2 separate regions of the Homo sapiens genome follow, and region 2 is linked to region 1. Evidence: promoter capture Hi-C in 16 types of primary human blood cells and fetal thymus (Javierre and others, 2016). All regions are on one chromosome and are shown on one strand. The core of a region is centred on a gene start or on the middle of the fragment in contact, and the rest is flanking DNA. Distances in the headings are between cores, read along the strand shown.

Evidence for each region. Contacts are between HindIII fragments. The CHiCAGO score rates a contact against its expected background, and 5 or more counts as called.
Region 2: a fragment that was not itself captured here is called in contact with the fragment with the promoter of ZNF160 in region 1 in 1 of 17 cell types (non-activated CD4 T cells); the score reaches 6.9 in non-activated CD4 T cells.

What each region holds. Positions count from the first base shown.
Region 1 is chr19:53,101,180-53,108,314 of GRCh38, reverse strand. ZNF160 (zinc finger protein 160) reads left to right here and starts at 4,893. Exons shown (of 6, transcript NM_001322131.2): 1 at 4,893-5,050. ZNF415 (zinc finger protein 415) reads left to right here. Exons shown (of 4, transcript NM_018355.4): 4 at 1-436. RefSeq lists a silencer at 4,441-4,850. The HindIII fragment of the contact is 3,069 bases long and covers 3,651-6,719 here.
Region 2 is chr19:37,208,981-37,216,236 of GRCh38, reverse strand. ZNF585B (zinc finger protein 585B) reads left to right here and starts at 5,701. Exons shown (of 5, transcript NM_152279.4): 1 at 5,701-5,796. The HindIII fragment of the contact is 8,273 bases long and covers 1-7,175 here.

The sequences.
Region 1 (7,135 bases), core at 3,644-6,143:
GAAACCATACAAGTATAATAAATGTGGCAAGGTTTTCAGTCACAATTCACTCCTACACAGCATCAGAGAATTTCATTCTTGAGAGAATCCTTACGAGTACAGCAAACCCTTCATCACAAGTTCAAGCATTCATTGACATCAGAGTCCATGCTAAAGAGAAATCATATACACCTAACTGTGTGGCAGAGGCTTCATTTAGGTCTCACAACTCACTAGACATCAAAATGTGTAAACATCTTTGTATATTTTGTGCATGTTGAAGCTATTAACCAAGGATCAAAACTGTAACACATCCAAGGATTTATGTGAGGAATAATTCAGTCTAGTTGTGCTGATAAACTTTTCATATTACACATTGTAGAACAAATGCAAGCCCAAATATGTTAAAACTCACACAACATGATATATATTAAAGGTTGCAGGATGTTTGAAGTCACTGGTTGTCTCAGATTTTAAAATATTTTATTTATTTATTTTAGGTGTCTTGCAAGGCTACTACTTTATACTTTAGGATTTATGACTTTCAACCAAAACCTTGAAATGTGTTGATAGGCCTCCTTACCTGCCTTTCATGGCAATGTCTGGGAAAGAATCAGTAAGATGGAAGGGCTCACTGCATTAGATGAGGATCATTTCTATTCAGATTCTTTGAAGAATAAGGACTCTGCCTTGGCAAATTACCAAGCATGGGGGCAGGCAGAGAATAATGCAAAATGATGGTGTTGATCATCATCCTTATTGTGTTTAGGGTGTTCTCCTGATAGACGGCACTTTGGGTTACAGGAAAGAGATGACCTGCAACCTGACCATGAAACAGAGCAGACCACGACCGGGCGCAGTGGCTCACACCTGTAATCCCAGCACTTTGGGTGGCTGAGGTGGGTGGATCATGAGGTCAGGAGTTCAAGACCAGCCTGGCCAAGATGGTGAAACCCCGTCTCTACTAAAAATACAAAAATTAGCCGGGCGTGGTGGTGGGCGCCTGTAATCCCAGCTACTTGGGAGACTGAGGCAGGAGAATCGCTTGAACCCAGGAGGCGGAGGTTGCAGTGAGCCGAGATTGCACCACTGCACTCCAGCCTAGGTGACTGAGAGAGACTGTGCCTCAAAAAAAATCAGAGCAGATCAAGACCTTAGACACTGGGATTTGTGGGAGGAGTGTAATGGGTTATTAGTGACTGATTACATGGTGGAAATAATTCAGGGGAAAACGGTGGCCACCTTCTGCATGGAATGGCCATCGCTGTTATATAGCCAAGATTGAAACCACAATAGAAACCACAACCTCAGAGATGAACCACAATAGCATGTTATTGATTAGGATTCACATTTACTGCTGGTATTACATTTTGCTACTGTTTTATTCAGAATGTATCATAGATCTCGTGCTAATTAATCTGATTTTTGCATAACTATGAATGCATCATGTTCTCTCTGCCAACATAGTTTTATCCCACCTCAGTAGGTTACTTTGTAACAGACAATAACAACACACCATTAGACTCTTAAGGCTGAAAGATAGAACCATTTTTTTTTTTCTTGGAATTAAATAGAGTGTTGGGAACATACACTTACAGAGTGCACTTGAGTTGTTCTCCCCGCCCATACCCTGCCTCAGGATACTTATGTGAATATAATGAAAATCCCAAGAAAGTTATTTTACACCATGAAAGCTGTATCACTCTTTTTTTTAATTTTTATTTTTCGAGACGGAGTCTTGCTCTGTTGCCCAGGCTGGAGTGCAGTGGCACAATAGCTCACTGCAGCCTCCGCCTCCCGGGTTCAAGCGATTCTCCTGCCTCAGCCTCCAAGGTAGCTGGGATTACAGGCGCCCACCACCACGTTCGGCTAATTTGTGTATTTTTAGTAGAGAACGTTTCACCATGTTGGCCAGGCTGGTCTCAAACTCGTGATCTCAAGGGATCTGCCTGCCTCGGTCCCCCAAAATGCTGGGATTGCAGGTGTGAGCCACCATGCCCAGCTACAGACTTTTCTTTTTTGAGGTTTTTGATAACTAATTCACTTTATTAATTCATTCATTCATTCATTTATAGGATGGAGTCTCACTGTGTCGCCAGGCTGGAGTGCAGTGGTACGATCTCATCTCACTGCAACCTCTGCCTCCTGGTTTCAAGCAATTCTGCCTCAGCCTCCTGAGTAGCTGGGACTACAGGGACAGGCCACCACACCCAGCTAATTTTTGTGTTTTTAGTAGAAACGGGGTTTCACCATGTTGGTCAGGATGGTCTCGATCTCTTGACCTCGTGATCCACCCGCCTCAACCTCCCAAAGTGCTGGGATTACAGGTGTGAACCACCGCGCCCAGCCTTATTTATTTATTTGAGACAGAGTCTCGCTCTGTCACCCAAGCTGAAGTGCAGTGGCACAATCTCGGCTCACTGCAGCCTCTGCCTCCCTGGTTTAAGCAATTCTCCTGCCTCAGCCTCCTGAGTAGCTGGGATTACAGGTGTGCACCACCACGCCTGGCTAATTTTTGTTTTTAGTAGAGATGGGTTTTCGCCATGTTGACCAGGCTGGTCTCGAACTCCTGACCTCATGTGATCCACTCGCCTCAGCTTCCCAAAGTGCAAGGATTGCAGGCGTGAGCCACCATGCCCAACCCTCTGAACCATTCTTTGTCAGTGTAATTTGGAACAACTTTTCCTTAACAACAGCCAACAGCCCCTCCCAAGAGTAGGCTTTTTTTTTTTTTTTTGAAAGACAGGTTCTCACTCTGTTGCCCAGACTGGAGTGCAGTGTCAGGATCATAGCTAACTGCTGCCTCGAACTCCTGGGCTCAAGCAATCTTCCTGAGTAGCTGGGACTACAGGTGTGTGCCACCATGCCCAGCTAATTTTTAAAAATTTTCTGTAGAGATGGGAGTCTTGCTATGTTGCCCAAACTGGTCTTGAATTCCATGATGAGCCAGGCTCACATTTGTAATCCCAACACTTTGGGAGATCAGGGCGGGAGGATCAGTTGAGGCTAGAAGTTCAAGACTTGCCTGGGCAACATAGTGAGAATCCGCCTTTGCAAAAAGTAAAAAAATTAGTGGAGTGTGGCGGTGCAAACCCGTAGTCCCAGCCACTTGGGAGACTGAGGTAGGAGGATCACTTGATTCCAGAGTTGAAGGCTGCAGTGAGCTATGGTCTTGACACTGCACTCTAGCCTGGGCAACAGAGCAAGATGCTCTCTCAAAAAATAAATAGACCGGGCACGGTGGCTCACGCCTGTGATCCCAGCACTTTGGGAGGCCAAGGTGTGGGGGATCCCTCGAGCTCAGGAGTTCGAGTCTAGCCTGAGCAACATGGCGAAACCCCGTCTCTACAAAAAGTACAAAAATTAACTAGGCATGGTGACGTGTGCTTGTAGTCCCAGCTACTGGGGAGATTGAGGTGGGAGGATTGCCTGAGCCTGGTAGATGAAAAGTTGCAGTGAGCAGAGATGACGCCACTGCACTCCAGCCTGGGTGACAGAGCAAGACTCTCTCCAAGAAATATGTAACATTTTTAACATAACATAACATAACATAACAAACTTTCCCTGAATAACTGTAGTCATGCCAAGTGCTCATCCACAGCCTCATAACTTGTGCTTGTGCTTTCTAGCCTTGTTTACTCCTCCATATATGAAAAAAAGAAAAAAAAGCTTTTTAGTTTGTGTCTCTTGGACATTTTCAGATCTTGTGATTGGAACATTCTCTCTATTGCAATAGTCCTTTTGAATAAAATCTTCCTTCTCTAAGTCTGAATTTGTCATTTACAGTGGTAAATATCTTAATTGTTCTGAGATAAATTATGTATATTATCTTTTTGTGGCAAAGGACTTAATATATATTCAGTAGGTGAAAGTAGTTCCTGGGGCCAGGTATGGTGGCTCACGCCTGTAATCCCAGCACTTTGGGAGGCTGAGGCGGGTGGATCACTTGAGGTCAGGAATTCGAGACCAGCCTAGGCAACATGGTGAAACTTCATCTCCGCTAAAGAACGTGGTGGCGGGCGCCTGTAATCCTAGCTACTCGGGAGGCTGAGGCAGGAGCATTGCTTGAACCCGGGAGGCCGAGGTTGCAGTGAGCAGAGATCATGCCACTGCACCCCAGCCTGGACGACAGAGCGTGACTCCGGCTCAAAAAAAAAAAAAAAAAGTATAGGCGTTTGAGGTTGTCATCTCGCACGGAATAGAATAGTAAGTATAAAAAAGGACAATGCAATTTATATCTATTTTTTAAAAGTTACTGCTAATTTCAGGGCTTTTAAATTACTTAATTTTAATCGCAGAAACTTTTCCAGCATGCCATCACCGCTCCGTGTCAACCCATGTTCCCAGACTCCTGGGCTGCTTCAGCGTCAATAACATTACTGGGTAAACGCGCTAGCAAAAAATGCTTTCAACATAAACCGCCTCCATTCTAAGAGGAAAGCAGTTTGGTTTCCAAAATAACCTACACAACTGTGCTTTTAACTTGAAACCGTTTGAAACATCTACGCCGTTCCACAAGACACTACAGATGGCTCTGGGCGCTGGGCTGTGGGCATCACACGAAATCGCAGACCCTAACGTGTCCCGTCCAGCCCCGCCTCTCCCCCGGGTCCCTTCCTGGCGGTCCCTCTGCCTCCCTCCCCCGCGGTCCCTTCGCCTTCCTCCCCCGCGGTCCCTTCCCGCGGTTCCTCCCCGCCCTTCCCCGGCGGCTCCTCCCCGGCCCGCCCCCGGGTCCCTCCACTTGGTCACTCCCCACCCCTCCCCGGTGGCTCCTCCCCGTTCCTTCCCTGGGGTCCCTGCCTGGCGGCCCCTGCTTCAGCCCGGCTCTCTCAACGCCCCGCCCTTTTCCGGTTCCGCCCATCTCGGACCCCGCCCCGGGCCGCTCGGTCGCTTTCCTTCGCGCAGTTGCCCACAGACCCGGAAGTGGATCGTGCGGAGCAAGCATCACACCATGGCGTATGAGTGTTCCTCTGTGTAGACTCAACCTGCGCCTCGCCGTCCCCCATTCGCACACCCGATGCCCGGGGGTCGCTACGGACTTAAAATCTCCGCACCGCACCCTCCACCTCAGGTAAATAGGCCTTGCTGTGTGGGCCCGGAGACGCTTCCTTTTGGGTTAAAGTCGCCCTGAGGCTGGTCCCTGCCCCCGGTCTTTCTGCCTTGGGCCAAGTAAACACGGCCTTTCCCGGTTTTTTAAACGTTTAAGCAGGATTTTCCTGCTTAAAATCCTTTACTGACTCCTCCTCCCGCCCCGCATCGCTTAAAGTCCTCACCGCCTGCCCTGGGCGCCTCCCAGCCTCGCTCTCGTCGGCCCCTGGAGCGCAGCGCCGCCGACCCAGTCCCGGGGAGGCCGCGCCTCCGCCTGGTCCTGGGATCCTGCACATCCCACCCCTGTCCTAAGGCGCCGTCGCCCCCCACCTCCCTCCTCCTCGTGCCGGGCCCTGCTGCTCCCCAGGCCTCCCCTTCGCAGTCACCGCTTCCCTTGAGCCCTCGTTGGGGAGGTGCCCGGGGCCCGTCCTGTGACACCCGGTGTTTTTGCCTGCCCAGCTCCACCCCCTGGAAAATGTACTCCTCCAACATGCAGACATCTTACTACAAACCCTCCAGTGAATGTGTGGCCCAAGGGAATCAGGAGAAAGAGAGACAAAGAGCCACTGAGAGGAGATGGAAAAACCAAGAAAGAGAAAAGAAAAATGAGGGAGACCCATAAACAGATGGCAAAGTGGAGGATGGGTGAGAGATTTGCAGCGACAGAGTGAAAGAAGCAGTCAAGAAAGTAGCAGGGGCAGAAAAGCAATTGGCGAAATGTAGAGAAAAGCTCGATGTCCCGAGATGCAGGACAACAAGATAAGGAGAGGGACAGCAAAGAAGGAGCCTCCTCAGACAGAGAGTGGGGGAGAGGAGAAAGGATTTGGCCGAGGGCAGACAGAGCTGCGTGGTGCTGGGACAGCTGGAGGGGACAGCTGGTGACAAGGCGAGCAGAGGGAGCACCACAACACAGGGAGGCCTGGGATCTGGGAGTGCCAGAGAGTGGGGATAAGCGGGTGTAACAGGGAAGAGGGGATTTAACAGGGAGAGCAGAGGAGGCGCGGAGATGGGGTAAGAAAGAGGCAGAAATAGATGGAGATTGGGACGATGAAAAGATTGGAAAGAAAACGCCACAAGAGGTGAAACAAATTGGAAGAATGGAGTAGAACAGATATAAGGGGAAAAAACAAAGAAGGGAGAAACAGCAGAAGAAAAAAGAGGCACAACATCGTCAGAATCCTAGGGGGAAGATAAAAGGGGAAAAAGGCTGGAGAGACAAGGTGAAAGTGAGAGGCACAAAATGGGGGAGAGGAACACATAGTTATAAAGAAAGAGGGGCGCCCTGGGGCCAGGTGAGAGGTGAGTTGAGATTGGATATGACAATTTGATTTCTCTATTTATAATGTGTTACATTTAAATTGTAATCTAATTGTTTAAATTCTACATATAAGGATGAGAATTACAAAGCTCTGTGTAAAAGGCTTGTGCATTTTACAATTATGGCATAAGAGGCTAGCTTTCATTTGCCCATGCTGTTTAGCCATTGGGCAGTGACTTGCCTCATTCAGTTATGGGTCTCCCTCTTCCTGTTTCCGAGGATGGGGTAGGGTGGGGGCAGTGAAGAGAGGCAAGGAGTGACTGGCTGTGTCACTGCCTGGTGCCTTGTATTTACCTTTCATCTCACAGTTCATGCTGAAGGTTGAGATGAAGCTTATCTAATTCAGTCTCTTTTTCTATATGTAATTATTGCTGAAGTAAGCTTTTGTGGAATCCTGTATTGGCTCATGTCATTCTTTTCTAAATGTGATATATTTTCAATTTTTTCCCTTTGTAGAATTCCATATATAGTTAATATATCATATACATATTAAATAATATATATATTTTCAAAATGGTTTCCATTTGAAGTTAATTGTGTTGAGTTCAGATTGAGGTCTGCATGCTTTCTACTCTTTATCATATATTGGAAATACTCTTTGGTAGTCAGTAGGTAACTTTATTCATTTTTATTTATTTATTTATTTATTTTTGAGACAGTCTCGCTCTTTCACCCAGGCTGGAGGGCAGTGGCGTGATCTCAGCTCACTGCAACCTCTGTCTCCTGGGTTCAAGTGATTCTCCTGCCTCA
Region 2 (7,256 bases), core at 1,790-4,289, about 16 Mb after region 1:
CTTTATATGTTTGGGTAAAAGTCCTTTGCCAAATATACATATTGCAAATTGCAAATATTCTCTCCCTGCCTGGGGCTTACCTTCTCAGTTTTTTTTTTTTTTTTTTTTTGAGACAGGGTCTTGCTCTGTTGCCTAGTCTGGAGTGCAGTGGTGTTAACATAGCTCACCACAGCCTTGACCTCCTGGGTTTAGTCGATCCTCCTGAGTAGCTGGGACTGCAGGTGTGCACCACCACCCCCAACTAATTTTCTTGTGTTTTGTGGAGATGGGGTCTCACTGTGTTATTACAGGTGTGAGTCACTGTGCCCAGCCCTCAGTTTCTTCATGATGTCTTTCAAAAAGCAGTTTTTACTTCTGATGAAATCCAATTTCTCATCTTTAAAATGTGCTTCATGCTTTCTGGTCTTTCTAACAATCTTTGACTCCTCTAGTGTTGTGAAGAATTTCTCCTATGTTTTATTCTAAAGGTTGTATAGTTTTAGTTTTTATTTTTGGTCTATCATCCACTTGAAGTTAGTTTTTGTGTATGTGAGGTAATGTTCAAAGTTATTATTTTCCAGATGGAAATTCAGTTGTTCTAACATCACATGTTAACAAAACTATCATTTTCCTCTTGAATGACCTCAACATCTAAAGTAGGCAGGATAATGTTCCCCCCAAAATACCCACATGCTAGTTCCTGGGACTTGTGAATATGCTATGTTACATGGCAAGTGGAATTAAATTAACAGGTAGAATTAAAGTTGCTAATCGGCTGACCTTAACATAGGGGAATTATACTGGATTGTCCAGTTAGACCCAATGTAATCACATGGGGTCTGAAATGAGGAAGAAGGCATAAAGTCAGTGTTGGAATTGTGTGCTGTGAGAAACACACGACCAGCCATTATTGGGTGTAAAGATGAAAGGAGCCCATGAGCTGAGGAATGCAGGCAGCTTCTCCAACTTGGAAAATGAAAAAAAACAAATTCTCCAGAGCCTCCAGAAAGGAATGCAGCTTGCAAACTTTTGATTTTAGAGCAGAAAAAACTCATTTCTTTTTTTTAATTTTTAATTTATTTTTTTAATTTTTATTTATTTATTTTGAGATGGGGTCTCCCTCTGTTGCCCAAGCTGGAGTGCAGTGGTGGGATCTCGGCTCACTGCAACGTCTGCCTCCTGGGTTCAAGTGATTCTCCTGCCTCAGCCTCCCTAGTAGCTGAGATTACAGGCACCCACCACCATGCCCGGCTAATTTTTCTTTCCTTTTTTTTTTTTTTTTTTTTTTTTTTTTTAAGTAGAGACAGGGTTTCATCATGTTGGCTAGGCTGGTCTTGAACTCCTGACCTCAAGTGATCTGCCTGCCTTGGCCTCCCGAAGTACTGGGATTACAGGTGTGAGCCACTGCACCCAGCATTTTTTTTTTTTTTTTTTTTTTTTAGAGACAAGGTCTTGCTCTGTCTCCCAGGCTGGAATGCAGAGGTATGATCACAGCTCACTGCAGCCTCATACTCCTGGACTTAAGCATCCTTCCGCCTAGGCCTTCTGAGTAGCTGGGACTATTGGTGTACACCACCACACCTGGCTAATTGAAAAAAAAATTTATAGAGAGAGGGTTTAGTTATGTTGCCCAGTCTAGTTTCAAACTCCGGGCCTCAAGTAATCCTCCCACCGAGGCCTCCCAAAGTGCTGGGATTACAGGCATGAGCCACCACAACAGCTGTGTCATCCCAACCCCTCTCTGGGCTTGATCACATAAAGAAGGCTTGCATTCCTCAGATAAAAGCCATTTATTTTCTTTTTCAACACTATGCGGAGTGAGATAAGCCAGACCAAAAGGACAAATATTGTATGAATCCACTTATATGAGGTGCCTAGAATAGGTGTATTCATAGAGACAGAAAGTAGAATTGAAGTTACATGAAGTTATATGAGGTACATGATAAAGCCTCTATACTTAAAACAGTGTGCTATTTGTGTGTGGTTAGAGAGACAGACAAAGGGAGGAGGATGGGAAATGGAGAAATAAACATCCATGGCCGGGCGCGGTGGCTCACGCCCAGCCCTTTGGGTGGCCGAGGTGGGTGGATCACCTGAGGTCAGGAGTTCGAGACCAGCCTGGCCAACATGATGAAACCCCATCTCTACTAAAAATACAAAAAATAAGCTGGGCATGGTGGCATGCGCCTGTCATCCCAGCTACTCAGGAGGCTGAGGCAGGAGAATTGCTTGAACCTGGGAGGCGGAGGTTGCAGTGAGCCGAGATTAAGCCACTGCACTCCAGCCTGGGCAACAGGAGCAAAACTCCGTCTCAAAAAAAGAAAGAAAGAAAGAAATTAACATCCCGGCCAGGCACGGTGGCTCACACCTGTAATCCCAGCACTTTGGGAGGCCAAGGCGGGTGAATCATGAGGTGAAGAGATCGAGACCATCCTGGCCAACATGATGAAACCCCGTCTCTACTAAAAATACAAAAATTAGCTGGGTGTGGTGGCACGCGCCTGTAGTCCCAGCTACTCGGGAGGCTGAGGCAGGAGAATCGCTTGAACCTGGGAGGCAGAGGTTGCAGTGAGCTGAGATTGTGCCACTGCGCTACAGCCTGGTGACAGAGTGAGACTTCATCTCAAAAAAAAAAGAAATTAACATCCACATAGATGCTTAGTATTTGATAAAGGTAGCAGCTCAAATCACCACAGTCACATCATAAAGTTTTATGCAGCCCATACACACACAGCAGAAAAAAAAAAAAACGAAGCTCTCTACGGAATGACATTAACTCTGGAATATATAAAAAATGGAAAGTATAGAACAGTGTAACATATAGTTCGTCTAAAAAAGAAAAGGAAATTAGATTAGATATAAGCATTTGTTTATATTCACTAAAAAAAGAAAAGATAGGAAAAAAGAAGTATTGGAAACGTGAACCAGAAACAATACCTATAGTGATAACCTATAGTGATTGGGGTGGTGGGGGGAGTGAGACTTGATATGTCTTTTTATACAGTTGCATAGGAAAAACAAACTGGTTTTAAAAATATATACTCTCACAACACTCAATACTTCCAGAATGTTTCGTTTTTAACACAAAATATGTGGAGTTTTTCTGACACCACTTCTCCAGCCCTCCCTACATGGGTGTCCTACAATTGAATTCAATTCTGACACTAACCTGAGTTAGCACAGACCTTACAGTTTAATTGCTCAGTCCCACAAGACTGCCCACCTCTTCAGATGCCAATGACAACTACTAGGTCACCTGATTACCAACAACTGCCCAGTTTGCCTGAAAATTAGAGGTTCTCATCATCCCCTTCTTGGATTTGATTCTACCAAACTTTTAAGGGAGAACAAATTCTAATATTTCTCAAACTAATCCAAAAAAATTGAAGGGGAAGGAATTTTTCCAAACTGATTCTGTGAGGCCAGCACCATCCTCATACTAAAACCAGGCAAAGACAGAAGAAAGAGAAAACTACAGGCCAAGATCCCTGATAAACGCAGATGCAAAAATCCTCAACAAAATACTAGCAAACCAAATCCAATAGCATGTCAAAAAGATACACAATGATCAAGTGGGACTTATCCCAGGGAAGCAAAGATGGTTTAACATATGCAGATTAGTATGTGCAATACATCACATTGACAGAATGAAGGACAAAAATCATATGGTCATCTCAATAGAAACAGAAAAAGCATTTGACAAAATTCAACATCTCTTTGCAATCAAAAAAAAAAAAAAACAAAACTCCCTGGCCGGGCTCGGAGGCTCACGCCTGTAATCCCAGTTCTTTGGAGTCTCACTCTGTCACCAGGCTGGAGTGCAGTGGCTCCATCTCAGCTCCCTGCAACCTCCACCTCCTGGGTTCAAGTGATTCTACTGCCTCAGCCTCCCAAGTAGCTGGTACTACAGGCGCACGCCACCACACCCAGCTAATTTTTGTATTTTTAGTAGAGGCAGGGTTTCACCATGTTGGCTAGGATGGTCTCGATCTCTTGACCTCATGATCCACCTGCCTCGGCCTCCCAATGCGTTGGGATTACAGGCATGAGCCACTGCGCCCAGCTGGGATTGCTTTTGAGCCTGGGCAGTCAAGGTTGCAGTGAGCCATGATTGTGCCATTACACTCCAGCCTGGGTGACAGAGTGAGACTCTGTCTCAAAAAAAAAAAAAAAAAAAAAGCAAGATTTTCTTCAGGTGTTTTTAGTCACACGTTGGCCATATTAAAGACTGTTATTATTATTATTGTGCTGTTGTTGTTGTTGTTGTTGTTTTGAGATGGAGTTTTGCTCTTGTTGCCCAGGCTAGAGTGCAATGGCATGATCTCGGCTCACTGCAACCTCCGCCTTCTGGGTTCAAGCGATTCTCCTGCCTCAGCCCCCCAAGTAGCTGGGATTATAGGCACACACCACCATGCCCAGCTAATTTTGTATTTTTAGTAGAGACGGGGTTTCACCATGTTGGTCAGGCTGGTCTCGAACTCCCCACCTAAGGTGATGTGCCCGCCTCGGCCTCCCAAAGTGCTGGGATTACAGGCATGAACCACCACGACCAGCCAAGACTATTATTATTTTTATTGTTGCTGCTTACTATAGTTGTGCTTGAGTTAGCTAGGGTGGATGCTGATGGAGATTAAGGGGATTAAAATATCTATACCTCCCAAAGCCTTCTACCAGCCGTTTCAAAGGGGATGCTTAGACTTCTAACCCCTCTTCCATGGTATCTCCTAGAAGAGGATTGTACTAACCCAACTTCTACCCTATTTCCTAATGTGTTTTCAACTACTAAAAATTGTACCTCCCTTCCTGCAGGATACTACCTACTGTGACATAACTCCGTCTTGCCTAGTGGTTTCACCCAGGAGTGAACTCAGATCCCAGTCCACCCTTCTCCTGAGTGGTGTCTCCAAAAAATAGATTGTACCATCCTGATGCCTCCTCTTATCTCCCTTATTTCTCTCAGGATCCCTGGCTTCCTAGTTCCCCCATGGTTTCTCCTAGTAAATCGTTGTTTTCTGCAGTGTGCCGTAACCAAGGGGTAACTTAGGTATTGTAAATATAACAGCCGGAGGCGGTGGCTCACGCCTATAACCCCAGCATTTTGGGAGGCCGTGGTGGGTGGATCATTTGAGGTCAGGAGTTCGAGACCAGCGTGACCAGTAGAGACGTGAAACTGCGTCTCTACTAAAAATACAAAAAAATTAGCTGGGTGTGGTGGCGCTTGCCTGTAATCCCAGCTACTCGGGAGGCAGAGGCAGGAGAATCGCTTGAACCTGGGAGGCAGAGGTTGCAGTGAGCCGAGATGGCGCCACTGCACTCCAGCCTGGGCGACAGAACAAGACTCTGTCTCAAAACAAACAAACAAACAAAAAAAAACATAAAGCTCCAGATCCTATCTTCAGGAACTTCTTCTTGGGTACAAGCGTGGTCACACTGGTTACAGTCTTGCATTCTATGTGAAAATCCTTGCCTTACTCTAGTCAACACTCCAGGAGGCGGACTCCTCCACTGTACGGAATCGATACGCATCAAAGATGGCGACCCACACAAATAAACACCATAAGGGCGCGGTTATATTCTCTGCCCGTGAGCGCCGATTACGGAAACTGCACGATGTCTCTAAATATGTGTGTGCTCCCTGTTGACTGTGGGCTGAAATTGGCTTCCAAGTTAATTTAGAGCATGCGCAATATCAACAGTCCATAAGGGGAGGTGCTAGAAGTCGGACCGGAAGTGGAAGTGGTCCCCGAAGGCTATTTCGCCGCTGGCGTCAGGACTATTTTCACGTTTTAATGCCGAGAGGTCTCTGTGACGATTTTGGTTGGTTGCAATTAGGGATTCTGTGAAGTCAGTAATAGAGGAGTTGTCTGTGGAATTAGTGATGGTGGTTTCGGGGCATGGTGATGGGGGTCTGTGACGTCCGTTGATGGTTGTCTGTGACAGGGATTTCTCGGGTCATTGATGGGGCTCTTTGGGATGAGTGATTGGGGTTTGGGGGTCAGTGACGGGAGTCTGTGGTCAGTGACTGAGGGCCTGTAGGGTCAGCTATGGTGGTCGGTGAGGACTGTGATCAGCTTGCTTTCTGACCTGAGTTGAAAGTTCAGTTCTTTCCATTTCAGCCTGTAATATAAAGATTAACAAGTTTTGATGTGTAGCAGTTTCGTATTGTTCAAATCTAAGTGTTTAAAAATTTTTTTCAGTAATTGTTTTTCTTTGACCCATGAGCTGTTTAGAAGTGCACTTTATGGCCGGGCGCGGTGGCTCAAACCTGTAATCCCAGCACTTTGGGAGACCCAGGCGGGCGGATCATGAGGTCAGGAGATCGAGACCATCCTTGCTAACACGGTGAAACCCCGTCTCTACTAAAAATACAAAAAATTAGCCGGGCGTGGTGGCGGGCGCCTGTAGTCCCAGCTACTCTGGAGGCTGAGGCAGGAGAATGGCGTGAACCCGGGAGGCGGAGCTTGCGGTGAGCCCAGATCTTGCCACTGCACTCCAGCCTGGGCCACAGAGCACCAAAAAAAAAAAAAAAAAAAAGAAGTGCACTTTATGTTTCAATTAGTGTCTGTAGGTGATGCTTCAGTTGAACAATTGCTTTATGGCCTAGTTCTTCCTCATTTTTCATAAATGTCACATCTATTACATGAAAAGAGTGTAATATGTTCTCTAATTTGTATTGTTATGGATATTAATCATATGTTATATATATTATGTATCTCCTCACAGATTATTTTGTTGAGGAAGGTAAACTACTCACATTGGAAAAGTTATTTGTCCACCTGTCCTTTCTTCTGTTTCTGCTTTATATATTTAAAACTATATTATTGGGATCAGTTGAGTGTATTGCTAGATATGACTGACCGGGCCTGGTGGCTCACGCCTGTAATCCCAGCACTTTGGGTGGCCAAGGTGGGCAGATCACCTGAGGTCAGGAGTTCGAGACCAGCCTGGCCAACATGGAAAAACACCTCTAACCAAAAATACAAAAATTAGCTGGGTGTGGTGGTGGGTGCCTGTAATCCCAACTACTCGGGAGGCTGAGGCAGAAGAATCACTTGAACCTGGGAGGCGGAGGTCGCAGTGAGCCAAGATCATGCCATTGCACTCCAGCCGGGGCGACAAGAGTGAAACTCCATCTCAAAAAAATAAAAAAATAGATATGACTAAATAGCTCAAAAGACATTATAGCAATTCAAGCTTCAACCAATAATTTATAAAAGCAATTTGCCTAAATGCTTTCCAACAGTGGATGTTGTCACTTTTTTTTTTGAGACAGAGTC